Regions from separate parts of the Homo sapiens genome. Here all the other regions are linked to region 1. The links are contacts of gene promoters, found by promoter capture Hi-C in human tissues and cell types (Jung and others, 2019). All regions are on one chromosome and are shown on one strand. The core of a region is centred on a gene start or on the middle of the fragment in contact, and the rest is flanking DNA. Distances in the headings are between cores, read along the strand shown. Region 1 holds the start of PDXDC1 (pyridoxal dependent decarboxylase domain containing 1). Region 2 overlaps NDE1 (nudE neurodevelopment protein 1). Region 3 overlaps MPV17L-BMERB1 (MPV17L-BMERB1 readthrough).

The links. Contacts are between HindIII fragments. The study calls those that stand out against the background at their distance.
Region 2: a fragment that was not itself captured here is called in contact with the fragment with the promoter of PDXDC1 in region 1 in 2 of the 25 tissues and cell types used here (liver and spleen).
Region 3: a fragment that was not itself captured here is called in contact with the fragment with the promoter of PDXDC1 in region 1 in 1 of the 25 tissues and cell types used here (dorsolateral prefrontal cortex).

The regions. Positions count from the first base shown.
Region 1 is chr16:14,972,546-14,977,218 of GRCh38, forward strand. It overlaps PDXDC1 (pyridoxal dependent decarboxylase domain containing 1), which reads left to right and starts at 2,481. Exons shown (of 23, transcript NM_015027.4): 1 at 2,481-2,675. The coding sequence starts at 2,655. RefSeq lists a silencer at 1,347-1,641 and an enhancer at 1,799-2,562. The HindIII fragment of the contact is 18,558 bases long and covers 1-4,673 here.
Region 2 is chr16:15,657,710-15,662,382 of GRCh38, forward strand. All of the region lies in intron 1 of NDE1 (nudE neurodevelopment protein 1), which reads left to right. Among named protein-coding and RNA genes, the nearest start is that of NDE1, 9.8 kb to the left of the region's middle. The HindIII fragment of the contact is 8,992 bases long and covers 1-4,673 here.
Region 3 is chr16:15,553,830-15,558,502 of GRCh38, forward strand. All of the region lies in intron 2 of MPV17L-BMERB1 (MPV17L-BMERB1 readthrough), which reads left to right. The region is part of intron 2 of BMERB1 (bMERB domain containing 1); the gene reads left to right. Among named protein-coding and RNA genes, the nearest start is that of MIR6506, 55 kb to the right of the region's middle. The HindIII fragment of the contact is 5,471 bases long and covers 1-4,673 here.

The DNA.
Region 1 (4,673 bases), core at 1,231-3,730:
CGAGGGTTTCACCATGTTGGCCACGCTGTTCTCCAACTCCTGACCTCAGGTGATCCGCCCACCTCGGCCTCTCAAAGTGCTGGGATTACAGGCATGAGCCACCGCGCCCAGCCTTTTTTAAATTTTTAAATTTTTTATTATATTTTGTTTTTGAGACAGAGTCTCGCTTTGTCGCCCAGGCTGGAGTGCAGTGGTGCGATCTCTGCTCACTGCAAGCTCCGCCTCCCGGGTTCACGCCATTCTCCTGCCTCAGCCTCCAGAATAGCTGGGACTACAGGCGCCCGCCACCATGCCCGGCTAATTTCTTTTTGTATTTTTGGTAGACACGGGGTTTCACCGTGTTAGCCAGGATGGTCTCGATCTCCTGACCTCGTGATCCGCCCGCCTCGGCCTCCCAAAGTGCTGGGATTACAGGCGTGAGCCACCGCGCCCGGCCCAGCCTCTTATTTGTATTTTTATTGTTTTTTGAGATGGAGTCTCGTCTTATTGCCCAGGCTGGAGCGCAGTGGCACAATCTCGGCTCACTGCAACCTCTGCCCCCGGGGTTCAAGTGATTCCCCTGCCTCAGCCTCCCAGGTAGCTGGGATTACAGGTGTTTGCCACCACGCCCAGCTAATTTTTTGTATTTTTAGTAGAGACGGAGTTTCACTCTGTTGGCCAGGCTGCTCTTGAACCAGCCTCTTATTCTTTTACATACTATTTCCAGCACAACTGTCCAAGATGGCAGTCAATAAATGTTTGGCTAAATATAATAAATAATACGGTTGATTATTTCCACTTTTTCATGTTGGGTTTTCAAAGTCTACTTTTAAAACAGTAAAGTTAACTTTTCTCTCTAGTATTTGTTTTGTAGAATCTATTATACTTTGTAATGTAATCCACAGAAACTTGGAGGTGACTTTAGTAAAATTTACTAGTTTTGAATGATACCCATGCTGAGGTGCTCAGAGGTGAAATGTACTAACATATATCGATGGATGGATATATGGATGCATATGTGATTAAAGCAAATATAGGGAAAATTAACTGTAGAATCTAGGTAGTGGGTATATGGTTGTTCACTGTACAACTGTTTAAACTTTTCTACGTTTGAAAAATTTCATAACACGTTGGAAAAGTGACTTGTTTTGCTCAAGCAGGGGTACATTCAATCTTCAATTCTTGAAAGACATAAATCTATCTTTCCTTCTGTTTGGAAAGCTCTTTAGAGAGTCAGAATAATCCCCACAGTACAGTCTAAACCAGCACACAAGGGTTTTTTGGTAGAAAATAATTTTATTAACATAACCAGGCAATTTACCAAATACAACGTAGATAGCTCAAAACATGGAGTTACTGCGCTGAAAATGTGACCCTGTTTACACAGATTTCGGGACGAAGAGTATAAAACAGGAGAGAAAAGGAGTAAGATTGTGGTTGTAGCGTCATCGCAGAGGTGAAGTGTTCCATTGATTGCCACTGTGGTAGTCTATATCAGTTTCCCACATTAAGGTGGGAGGAATCTACTAAGCAAATGTACGCCCTCCCCATTCGTTCGAAACACATTGCAGTAAAATTGCAAAAGTGGCCGGGCGTGGTAGCTCATGCCTGTAATCCCAGCACTTGGGGAAGCTGAGACGGGAAGATCGCCTGAGGCCAGGAGTTTGAAGCCAGCTTGGGTAACATAGTGAGACACCCCTACCTTCTCTATTAAAATGAGATTTTAATTTTTTTTCTCTTCAGTTCATCGGTTAACAAGATAAAAAAATTAATAAAAAATTAACTTTTTAAAACATTTAAAGTAAAGTAGGAGTGGAAGCAGTATGTGGACTCATGGGGCTTGGGTCTGAATCCTACCTAGATCGGCACTGCGAAATGGGGATAATGATCTCCTAGAGCTGCTGAAATAGGAAAATGGAAGAACAGCAGCTGATGTATTAATATTATCATTATTACTACTACCCATTACCTGACAAGTGATAATTGTGACATGAAAGAGGCTGGACCGGTTGTTACAACAATTTTTTCCGTCTAGAATTCGGCGGTAAGGTCTGAGACAACACCTCAGCTTAGATCAGTGCCTTCTCTGAACAGCGTTCACTAAGCAGCCCCCAACCCCAAAACCCCCAAGTCCCCGGGCGCCGAGGACGCTGCGAGTCCTGCGCATGCGCAAGGTTGCCCACTCGCTCACCGCCTCCTTGGCGAATGGCCTGTTCCATTCTCGAGGGATGCCGGCGGGAGGTGAGGCGGGAGACTTGGAAGCCTGGGCCCGGAAGTGAGGTGCGTCACTAGTATTTCCAGCCTTTCACTCCATGAATAGTACTTTGTGATTATTATACTTCTACCTTGATGATTGCAACAGGCTGCTGGAAAGAGTTTGGTGAACAATCCACCGGGCATCCTCCCCCCTTCACCTGCGCACGTTAGGGAGGGCCGGCGTGGCGCCCAGGTACGGAATCCCAGAGGGCTCCGCCCAGCGCTACGGGGCCCCGCCCCGCCGCCTCTCAACCATCAGGTTCGGCAGCCCGCGGCGCCGCCTGGCAGCTCCTCCTCTTCTCCGCCCCGCCGGCCGCGGGCGCGGGGGACGTCAGCGCTGCCAGCGTGGAAGGAGCTGCGGGGCGCGGGAGGAGGAAGTAGAGCCCGGGACCGCCAGGCCACCACCGGCCGCCTCAGCCATGGACGCGTCCCTGGAGAAGGTCCGTGCCGGGAGGGGGCGATGGGGACGGTGCTGCGGCCCGGGGCTCCCGCTTCCGAGGCAACTGTTTCCCAGTCGCGAGCTGCCATTGTGACCCGGACAGGGGGACGCGGGCTGACAGGCCCTGCCTGAGGAGGCCTCGCCGGGAGGGCGGCTGGGGCCCGGGCGCGTCACGGGGCCGGGTGTCTCTTGGGTCCCCGTGGGCCGAAGAGGCTGGGCGGGGTTCGGTGGGGGCCGCGACGGGCCCGGAGCCCAGGACTGGGACCGCGGGGCCGACCTTGGGCCCTGCCGAGGTTCCGCGAGTGGCCGGCCTGAGCTCGGCTGGCCCTTTCGGAGGACCGGGAGCTCTCCGTTGGCGGCCCCAGATGCTCCCGGAAAGAAGCCGCAGTTATTTCAGAGCCAGCTGCAAACCTGTAGGTTTTTCTTGGTCTCCGAGTTAGGAATGAAAATTGCCAAAGCAGTGGTTTTCCAACTTCAGCCTGAGTGGGAATCACCTGGGGCCTTTGGTAAAATGCGGAGGTTCAGTCCCGGGGTCAGAACCTCTGGGGGCGGGACCGGGAACTGCGTGTTTAACCGCCACCGCCCCGCTCCCACTCCGCCCCACGCAGGTGATTCTGATGCTGAGCCTGCGATCACCGGGCGAGAACCTCTGAGTTCCAGAAAGGGGTGGGTGTTGCGTAGATTGCGAATTGAGTTTTGGGGATCGCAGCTGCTCCACAACTTCCTGGCTCCCCCATTCCAGTGGCGAGGAGGGATCCCCGAGTCAACTCGAAATCCACTGGTAACAGAGCCTACCTCTGGTTTCCCCTTGGGGGAACGGCAGCGTGGTGTACCAGGCTGACTGCTCTACCATGTGAAACGGATTCTCATTGTCCCAGTGTTAGGGCTTGTAAATGGAAACCAGTTTGGGTTTCTTCACGGATTCCTGCTTTCGGTACCTGACATTCTGCCCTCCCTCAAAGCCCTTCTGTCTGTTCCAGCTTGGGAGTCTGCTTGTCCAATCCAGTGCATACCCGGTTTTTCATGCATGTGGCATTCAGGAGCAATGCTCGTGTTTTAAGACGGCTACATTTTAATTTTGAGCTGGTAGGAATAATATATTTTGTCTTTTTTCAAGGCAGCAGCTGCTGTAGATTTTGTTCACTTGTCACTGGAGAGTTGAAGGCAATAATTGTAAAGGTTGGGCCAGATGTCTTCATGTGCTCACAGTGGTATAGCCTACTCCTGGGTTGCTTAGCATAAATTGGGTGGAAGACAAGAAAAAGATAATATGGTTTTCTTGTGCCATCTCTGGGGTGAATGTTACGTGTTTTCCTGGCTGGGAATAAAGTCTTTCCGGTCGTCTGATTAGCAGGGTGTCTACCTTTTGGTACTTTGAGTTTGTCCAGATGAGTGGTTCTTAAAGCAGGGGGCAATTTATTTCCCCAGGAGACATTTGGCTATCTCTGGACATAGTTTTGATTGTCACAATGGGGGCAGGGAGGTGCTGCCGGTACCTAGTGGGTAGAGGCCAGGGACGCCTCTAAACATCCTACGTTGCACAGGACAGCCCCCCACGCTGGAGAATTCTCTGGCCCAAAATGTCAGCAGTGTTGAGGCTGAGAAATCCTGGTCAAGATCATGTTTATAACACCAGCAGTTGAGTACAAAACGATGCAAAGTGGTGTTATCAATTTCCTAAGAAGGTGGGTGGGCTTCATGTGATTGTAATTGGAATCCTGAAGAACTGGGGTGATCTTTCCTCCAGGAATAATTAGCCTTTATAGGAAAATCTGCAGGGTGGGTCAGAATCCTGCTTTAAATATTACTTTTCTGGCATTTGATCAGTAGGTTACAGTAGTTGCTCCCTAAGTGTTAATTGATGATAAAAGATCTTAAACTCTCTCAATGAGGATCGCAAGAGGGACTGAAATTCCAGTGTGTTTAATATTGGAGCATTCACAAAAATTGTAGTGATCTTTTAGGAATTCAGAACGTGTGGGCTGGAGGTTTCTGCCTT
Region 2 (4,673 bases), core at 1,455-3,954, 690 kb after region 1:
TTCATCCTTCTGAGTAGCTGGGACTACAGGCACGCACCGCCGTGCCCGTTTGATTTTTGTTTTTGTTTTTTTAGTAGACACGGGGTTTCACCATGTTGCCCAGGCTGGTCTCAAACTCCTGACCTCAAGTGATCTGTCTGCCTCGGCCTCACAAAGGGCTGGGATTACAGGCATGAGCCATTGCGCCAGGCACCACTCTACCCTTTTGACTTTGAGCAAGTAAGGTCGTTGATTCCATACATTCATTAAGATTCCTGCGTGGCAGAAATCTAACCCCAACTGGTATAACCAAGACAAGGAATTGATTATCTCATAACCTTAAATCAGGTGTGGCTGCATCTAGGTGTTCAAATGATATTGTCAGGACCCAGGCTCTCCATCCCTTGGCCCAGCTTTCCTCTGTTTTGGCTTCACTCTGAGGCAGGCTCTCCCTTGTGATAGCAAGATGACCACCGGCAGTTTCAGGCTTACCTCCGGCTTCAGGCTTACCTCCAGCTTCAGGCTTACCTTACCAACCCTAGTGGAAAGAGAGTTTCATTTTTGACAGCTATGCAAAAGGTCTGGACCTGGGCCCTCACTGGCTTAGTATGGGTTAGGCCCATCCTTAAGCCAATCATTGGCTCAGCATGGGTTAGATCCGTGACTGTCACTGGCTGAGCATGGGGGTTAGGCTCACCCTATCATTGGCTCTGCGTGAATTAGGCCCACCTCTGTCACTGGCTCATCGTGGGTTAGGCCCACCCATGAGCTGATCACTAAGGTCGTGAATAGGCATATGCCTCTTCCCAGGTGTGGAGGATGATGTCAGATCCCTCTGAACTCATGAAATGAGTAGGGTATTCTCCCAAGGGAATATTGTGCTGTCACAGAAGATGGAAAAATGAATGCATGTCTGGAAAAAACAAGCAAAACTACAAATCATTAGCTTTATATGACATTTATTTATTTTTTGTTTATATGTTTTTGAAATGGAGTCTTGCTCTGTTGCCCAGGCTGGAGTGCAGTGGTGTGATCGTGGTTCACTGCAACCTCTGGCTCCCGGGTTCAAGCGATTCTCATGCCTTAGCCTCCCGAGTAGTTGGGATCATAGGTGCCTGCCACCACACCCAGCTAATTTTTGTGCTTTTAGTGTAGACAGGATTTTACCATGTTGGCCAAGCTTGTCTTGAACTCTTGACCTCAAGTCATCTGCCTGCCTCAGCTTCCCAAAGTGTTGAGATTACAGGCATGAGCCACCACGTCTGGCCAGCTTTGTATGACATTTCGCCTTTCTGCCTTGATCAAACTTTCAGAGAATCTGCTTTCCAGAGGGATGAGTGGGTCGGGAAATAGCATGTTTTCTCTGAATGAGGGAAAGGATTGAAAAAGTAGGAGGGAGAAAGGATGTGAATATGAGTCCCAACAAATGCAGAGTTATCGGTAAGTTTTGTGCTTGAATCTAGGTACAATTGTGCATTTCCTGGTTCTGCATGAATTAGGCCCACCTCTGTCATTGGCTCAACATGGGTGAGGCTCACTAACTTCCACCAGAAGTTAGTGGTGGTGTCTGTGTTGACACTTACATGTTTAGCCTAATGATTTCATGTTTTAACCAAAACTATATAGCTTGTTGGTTATATCTTAGAAAGTGATGGTTTTTGCTCATTCTTTTGTCCCCAGGGATACACACCAGCCTCTAAGTTCTCTTGAGGGAAGGAAGGGACCTTGCACACAATCTTTTTTTTTTTTTTTTTTTTTTTTTTTTTGAGAGGAAGTCTCACTCTGTCACCCAGGCTGGAGTGCAGTGGTGCGATCTCGGCTCACTACAACCTCTGCCTTCTGGGTTCAAGTGATTCTCCCGCCTCAGCCTCCCGAGTAGTGGGGATTACAGGCGCACACCACCATGCCCGGCTAATTTTTATATTTTTAGTAGAGATGGGGTTTCAGTGTGTTGGCCAGGCTGGTTTCAGACTCCTGAGCTCAGGTGATTCACCTGCCCTGGCCTCCCAAAGTACTGGGATTACAGGTGTGAGCCACTGCGCCCGGCCTTGGACACAATCTTTTTTTTTTTTTTTTTTGAGACGGAGTCTCGCTCTGTCACTCAGGCTGGAGTGCAGTGGCACGATCTCAGCTCATTGCAACCTCCACCTCCTGGGTTCAAGCAATTCTCCTGCCTTAGCCGCCTGAGTAGCTGGGACTACAGGTACCTGCCACTGCGCCCGCCTAATTTTTGTATTTTTAGTAGAGATGGGGTTTCACCATATTGGCCAGGCTGGTCTCAAACTCCTGACCTTGTGATCTGCCCGCCTCGGCCTCCCAAAGTGCTGGGATTACAGATGCGAGCCACTGAGTCTGGCCTGGACACAATCTTACTTGGATTCCTCATGCCCTTTTGACAAGCTCAGAGCCTCAAATAAATTCAGAAAATAGGTGATTACATCAAACAGCCTCTATCAACAGGGAGTATACAAACCGTTAGCCCAACTGTTAATAGAAGTCTGCTTTCTTGCTGGGTGTGGTGGCTCACACCTAGAATCCTAGTGCTTTGGGAGTACAAGGCAGGAGGATCGCTTGAGCCCAGGAATTTGAGACCAGCCTAGGCAACATAGTAAGACCCCATCTCTTAAAAAAAAAATTAGCTTGGCGTAGTGGCCTATACCTGTAGTCCCAGCTAGTCAGGAGGCTGAGGCAGGAGGATCAGTGCCGCCTAGGAGTTCAAAGATGCAGTGAGCTATGATTGTGTCACTGCACTCCAGCTGGGTTGACAGATTGAGACCCTATCTCTTAAAAAAAAAATTGCTTCCCTCACCTCTGCTGTGAAACAGCTCAAAGTCCTGAGAGCCAAGGCCCCTACCGCCCACATCCTCTAGCTGTTGGCTAATTTATTTCATCGTCTTTTAGGTAATTCTCCAGAATTCCATCGCTTTCCTCTTTTTCACCTCCCAGTTACTCCTGCACTCAGTTCTTCGTCTTTCCTCCTCCACTGTGTAGAAACTGTTCTTGCTCACACCGCCAGTGACCGACTTTCGCTCAGCCTTGTGGATATTTTCCAGCCCTTATCTTCCCTGCTTCTCTGTTGCATCCTTGTGACACTGGAATGTTTCCCTTTTTTCCCTTGAAACCGCCCACTCCCAGGACAGCACAGTCTTCCTGATTCTCATCTCTCTCACTCTGTTTCTTCTCTGCCTCCTTCGGTTACCATTTCTTAAACTGCCCACCTTTCCAATATTGGCATTCTTCACTGTTCCATACACAGTCCCTAGGCGATTCTTCCATGGTCACGAGGAAAAGAGAAAAACCAGCTATAGACGCATGACTTTCAAATGGATATTGTTGACCCAATTTCAACCCTGAGTTTCAGCTGCGATATTGCATCTTGGTGTGTCATGGACATGTCAAGCTGTGAATGTCTGAGACTGGGTTTGTTATCTCTCCTTAACCCACCCACCTACCCAAGAGTTTTACTTGTTTTTTTTTTTTTTTTGAGTCTCGCTCTGTCACCCAGGCTGGAGTGCAGTGGCGCCATCTCGGCTCACTGCAAGCTCCGCCTCCCGGGTTCAAGCCATTCTCCTGCCTCAGCCTCCTGACTAGCTGGGACTACAGGCACCCGCTGCCAGGCCTGGATAATTTTTTGTATTTTTAATAGAGACAGTGTTTCACCATGTTAGCCAGAATGGTCTTGATCTCCTAACCTCGTGATCCACCTGCCTCGGCCTCCCAAAGTGCTGGGATTACAGGTGTGAGCCACCGCGCCCGGCCGAGTTTTCCTTTTGATTGTCCTTTTTTTTTGAGACGGGATCTTGCTGTGTTGCCCAGGCTGGAGTACAGTGGCATGGTCATGGGTCACTGCAGCCTCGACCTCTCCTTGCCCCTCATCCTCTCGAGTAGCTGGAACTACAGACACACCACCATGACCAGCTAGTTTTTGTATTTTTTGTAGAGATAGGGTCTCACCAGGTTGCCCAGGCTGGTCTGGAACTCCTGGGCTCAAGCATTCCACCTGCTTTGGCCTACCAATGTGCTGGGATTACAGGTGCGAGGCACTGCACCCAGCCACCTTCTGGAAGTCTTTATCTCTGGTGATGGGGATGGTGGCGGCACCCAATTGCCTAAGGTAGAGCCCCAGAAGATGTCCTCACCTCCTTTTTCTCTCTCCCCTGCCCCGAAAAGTCATAATTCATCAAGTTCTGGTAAGTTTGCCTTCTAAATATTTTTGGAGTCCATTTCTGTTCCCTCCATCTTCATTCCTACTTTCTTTTTTTTTAGACAAGGTCTCACTCTCTTGCCCAGGCTGGAGTGCAGTACCGTGATCATAGCTTACTGCAGCCTCAAATTCCTGGACTCATGTGATCCTCCTTCCTCAGCCTCCAGAGTAGCTAGGACTACAGATGTGTTGCACCACACCAGTCTAATTTTTTAAAAAGTTTTTTTGTCAAGGTAGGGTCTTGCTGTGTTTCCCAGGCTGGTCTTGAACTCCTGGTCCCAAGTGGTCCTCTTGCCTTGGCCTCCCATAGTGCTGGGATTATACGTGTGAGCCACTGTACCTGGCCTATTCTCACTTTCTAATTCAGGCCACGTTCCTTTCTCTTTTCTTTTTTTTTTTTTTTTTTTTGAGATGGAGTCTTGATCTGTCGCCCAGGCTTGAGTGCAGTGGCGTGATCTCGGCTCACTGCAAGCTCTGCTTCCCAGGTTCA
Region 3 (4,673 bases), core at 1,265-3,764, 580 kb after region 1:
GAAGGTCAAAGGGAGAGTGCACTCTCTCCTTGGTGTGGAAATACTGATCACCATGTCTTCCAAACTGGGTTTCATAGACACATCTCCATGCCATGCTCTCACTCTAGAACCTAAGATGGCTCCCATGTTAAGGTTCTTTACAACGCAGACACATATGTCCCTGATATGTCCTAATTGGGCAGACTCTTCATTGTCACCTACCCTGGCATACCACACCCATTCCTAATATTTGTCTCAGCTCCCCCTTCTCTCTGAGTGCCTGGAATCTTTTCCTGACCCCTCCAAGTTGTGCCCTCCCCTGTAAGTTGCATCTCGATTTGAGCAGCCTTCTCCCAGACTATCCTGATCTCTGTCTTCCTTGAACTCCAGTCACTGGCTGGAGCTTTCACAGTCCCAGTCGAGAGCATGGGCTCAGATCAGACTGCCCGAGTTCAAGTTCCTACCACTTACTCTGTGACGTTGAACAAGTTCTTTATCCTGTCTAAGAGATAATAATAATAGTCCTTACCTCATAGAGTTGCTGCAAGAGTTCACTGAGATGATTTGTGTAAAATGCTTAATCCAGAGCCTGACACCAATCATATGAAAGCATTCAATAAGTACTAGCAATTATACTTCTGTATTGTTTGATGTTTTTATAGTGAGACCATATTTATGTAATATTTGTATAATTTTTTAAATAGACCAAGCTGGGTGTGGTGGTATATGCCTGTGTTCCCAGCTACTTGGGAGGCTGAAGCAGGAGGATCCCTTAAGCCCAGGAGTTCAAGTCCAGCCTGGGCAATATAGTAAGACCCTGCCTCTAAAAAAGAAAAAAAAAAGGACCAAGTATTCTTTTTTTTTTCTTTTTTTTTTTAGATGGTGTCTCGCTCTGTCGCCCATGCTGCAGTGCAGTGGCATGATCTCAGCGCACTGCAAGCTCCACCTCCCAGGTTCACGCCATTCTCCTGCCTCAGCCTCCCAAGTAGCTGGGACTACAGGTGCCCGCCACCACGCCCGGCTGATTTTTTGTATTTTCAGTAGAGACAGGGTTTCACCGTGTTAGCCAGGATGGTCTCGATCTCCTGACCTTGTGATCCGCCCGCCTCGGCCTCCCAAAGTGCTGGGATTACAGACTTGAGCCACCGTGCCCGGCCAGGAGCAAGTATTCTTTTAGGTCTAAAACAAAGGTAACTAAGCAATACTGGTGTTTGTTTGTTTTGAGACAGGGTCTCACTCTGTCAAGGCAGACAGCTGGAAACCCACGTCAAGAAAATTGACTATTTTCAAAAGTCAATCCTTGCCTCCCAGGTTGGAGTACAGTGGTGTGATCATGGCTCACCCAGGAGCTCAACCTCCTGGGCTGAAGTGATCCTCCTACCTCAGCCTCTCTGGTAGCTGGAACCACAGGTACACACCACCAGGCATAGCTAATTTTTTTATTGTGTAGAGACAGAGTCTCGCTATGTTGCCTAGGCTAATCTCGAACTCCTGGACTCTATCGATCCTCCCATCTCAGCCTCAAAGTACTGGGATTACAGGCATGAGCCACTGTGCCTGGCCATAATTTTTTTATATCATACATACAGAAAAGAGCAGTATTAGTAGTTGTTATTGTAAGAAAAATGAAAACTAAGGCAGTCTAGAAAGCCCTTGGAAGAGAGAAGAATAAACTGCGCTTGAGGAAGTTGACATTTGGGAACAGAGTGGGAACAAGGGTCTTGAAGAAGGTGACATTTGTTTGGGAACGAGTGTCTGACTGCAATCAAAGGAAAGGCCAGTGTGACAGGTGGATGTAAATCCACAGTCCATTAAAATGGCCACAGAGAGAAAACAGACATATTGGCCTTCCAGGGTGCAACATGAGGGCATTCCCTTCCTATGTACACTGGCAGGCACCTCTCCGGTCCCTTGGTCCCCAGCAAGATGCTGAGAAATTGCTGAGGCCAGGGGCTCCCTGGACACTTATCAACACTTATCCTTACCCAGGGATAGCGTTTAAGCTCATGAATCCTACGAAAGCTGAACCAATGCACATGTTTATCATCTTGGAACCATTTGATTTGAGGAAATTGTAATAGCACATGCTGGCCAGGCGCGGTGGCTCATGCCTGTAATCCCAGCACTTTGGGAAGCTGAGGCGGGTGGATCACCTGAGGTCAGGAGTTCGAGACCAGCCTGGCCAACATAGTGAAATCCCCTCTCTACCAAAATACAAAAATTTGCTGGGCATGGTGGCAAGTGCCTGTTATCTCAGCTACTTGGGAGGCTGAGGCAGGAGAATCGCCTGAACCTGGGAGGTGAGGTTGCAGTGAGCCAAGATCCCGCCATTGCACTACAGCCTGGACGACAAGAGCGAAACTCCATCTCAAAAAAAAAAAAAATAGCATGTGATAGTGAGATACACATTTTGCACAGAAATGTTGGCTGAGATAGTCCAGGAGAGTCTCTGTGAGCTGACTTTTTACCTAGGGTGGAGGAGTGGATGGAAGTGGCTGTTCCTACACACCCACACTGCCTGTGCAAAACCGTGGGCTGCCTGCACCACACACACAAGCCTGTTTGATTCTCATACAACCCCAAGACAAAGGTGTAATCCCTTTTCAACAGTGACAGCACTGAGGCTGAGAGCAGCAAAGTAGGTCATAGCCAGTCAATGGGGGTACTGAGATCTGCATTGAGATCTGGCTGTGTCTAAAGCGGGTTGTATCCTCTCTGTGCTTGCAGAATGGGGCTCGAGGGCTCATCTAAACCCCTCATCTTATTTATTTATTTTTATTTATTTATTTATTTATTGAGACGGAGTCTCGCTCTGTTGCCAGGCTGGAGTGCAGTGGTGCAATCTCGGCTCACTGCAACCTCCACCTCCCAGGTTCAAGTGATTCTCCTGCCTCAGCCTCCTGAGTAGCTAGGACTACAAGCACGTGCCACCACGCCCAGCTAATTTTTGTATTTTTAGTAGAGACAGGGTTTCACCATGTTGGCCAGGCTGGTCTCGATTTCTTGACCTCGTGATCCGCCCTCCTCGGCCTCCCAAAGTGCTGGGATTACAGGCGTGAGCCACCGCGCCCGGCCCAGACATGACATCTTTTTCTCACCTGTCTTAAGATACCTGCAGCCTCTGTAACTTATTTTTAAAAGGAGACAATAAAGACTATTTTTAAAAGTCAATCCTTGCCTCTGAAAACCTACCTCTGCCTTTGTCGTGGTCTCTGCTGGGTTTCCATTAGGCTGCAACTCAAGCTGCTGATGCCTCCATTTCATGTCGTTTTCACAAACATTTTGTAAAGCAGCAGCTCTATTATTCCAGCAGGGCCTGATCACCTCTCCGCACCCAACGCTGATAAAAATGACCCGCTTTCCCCTATCGTCCCAGCGTGAAAGACCAAGATGCTGAATGACACGGGTTGGCTTTCTTTTCCTTCCGAACATTAATCAGGTTCTTGAAGATAACATCTCTCTCTGGAACGAGCCGGCAGCAGCAGAGTTTGATTTCCAGGTTCAGCCCTAATGGTACAGAGACCTGGACTAATGTGGCTTATTCAAAGTTCCAGCCATGCTTCTAAAGCATGGCTTATTCGAACTTCCAGCTATGCTTTTAAAGCACTTTGCATGAACTATTCACATGTCTTTTGAACAATATGATTTAATGGCATTGGAAAATCATCATGATGTCATGCTTGCAATGAGCAGGACAGCTGTATGTCTTGATCCAATACACATTAAAAATGCACCTATCCACACATATGTATCTGTGAAAATGTCTTCAGCTGCAAGTAACACAGCGTCCGACGACTAGTGTCTTAAATCTTGGGTGACCAGCTGTCTCTGTTTGCCTGGGACTGAGAGGTTTCCAAGGATCTGGAAACTGCAGTGCAGAAACTGGGACAGCCCCAGGCAAACCAAGTCAGTTGTTCACACTACTTAAGTCATAAGGACATTTAATATTTACTTGAGGCTGGACACAGTGGCTCACACCTGTAATCCCAACACTTTCGGAGGCTGAGGCAGGTGGATCACGAGGTAAGGAGTTCAAGACCAGCCTGGCCAAGATGGTGAAACTCCATCTCTCCTAAAAATACAAAAATTAGCCAGGCTTGGTGGTGGATGCCTGTAATCCCAGCTACTCGGGAAGCTGAGGCAGAGAATGGCTTCAACCTGTGAGGCGGAGGTTGCAGTGAGCCGAGATCATGCCACTGCACTCCAGCCTGGGCAACAGAGCTAGACTCCGTCTCAAAAAAAAAAATTTTTTTTGACTTGATAAGCAGTCCAGATGCAGGTGGCCCGAGGGTCAGTGGGGTGGCCCCAGGATGCTATCAAGGGTCTGGCTGTTTCCTTTCCTCCCCTCTGCCCTAGATAGCGAACCTGTCCCCTTCTGCCCATGGGTAGTAAGCCAATCGCTGTTATGATGGATTTGGCAAAAGAAAAGAATTTATTCACACCAACGCAGCCAAGCAAGGAGGCAGGAGAAAAGGTCTCATACTTGCCTCCCTGAAGATGGAATTTAGGGATCTTTATGGAATAAAGGAGCAGGGTGGTCTAAAGTGTGGGAAGAGGTGATTGGAGGCAAGGAAAAGTGAGGTCATTGGCAATCTGCACATACATAGCCAAGCTTCCTGGATCTTCATAGGGTGCATGTTTAGAAAATGGCAGCATTAGCATGATCTCGGGGAGTTTTGGGCCCTCTGACGTCA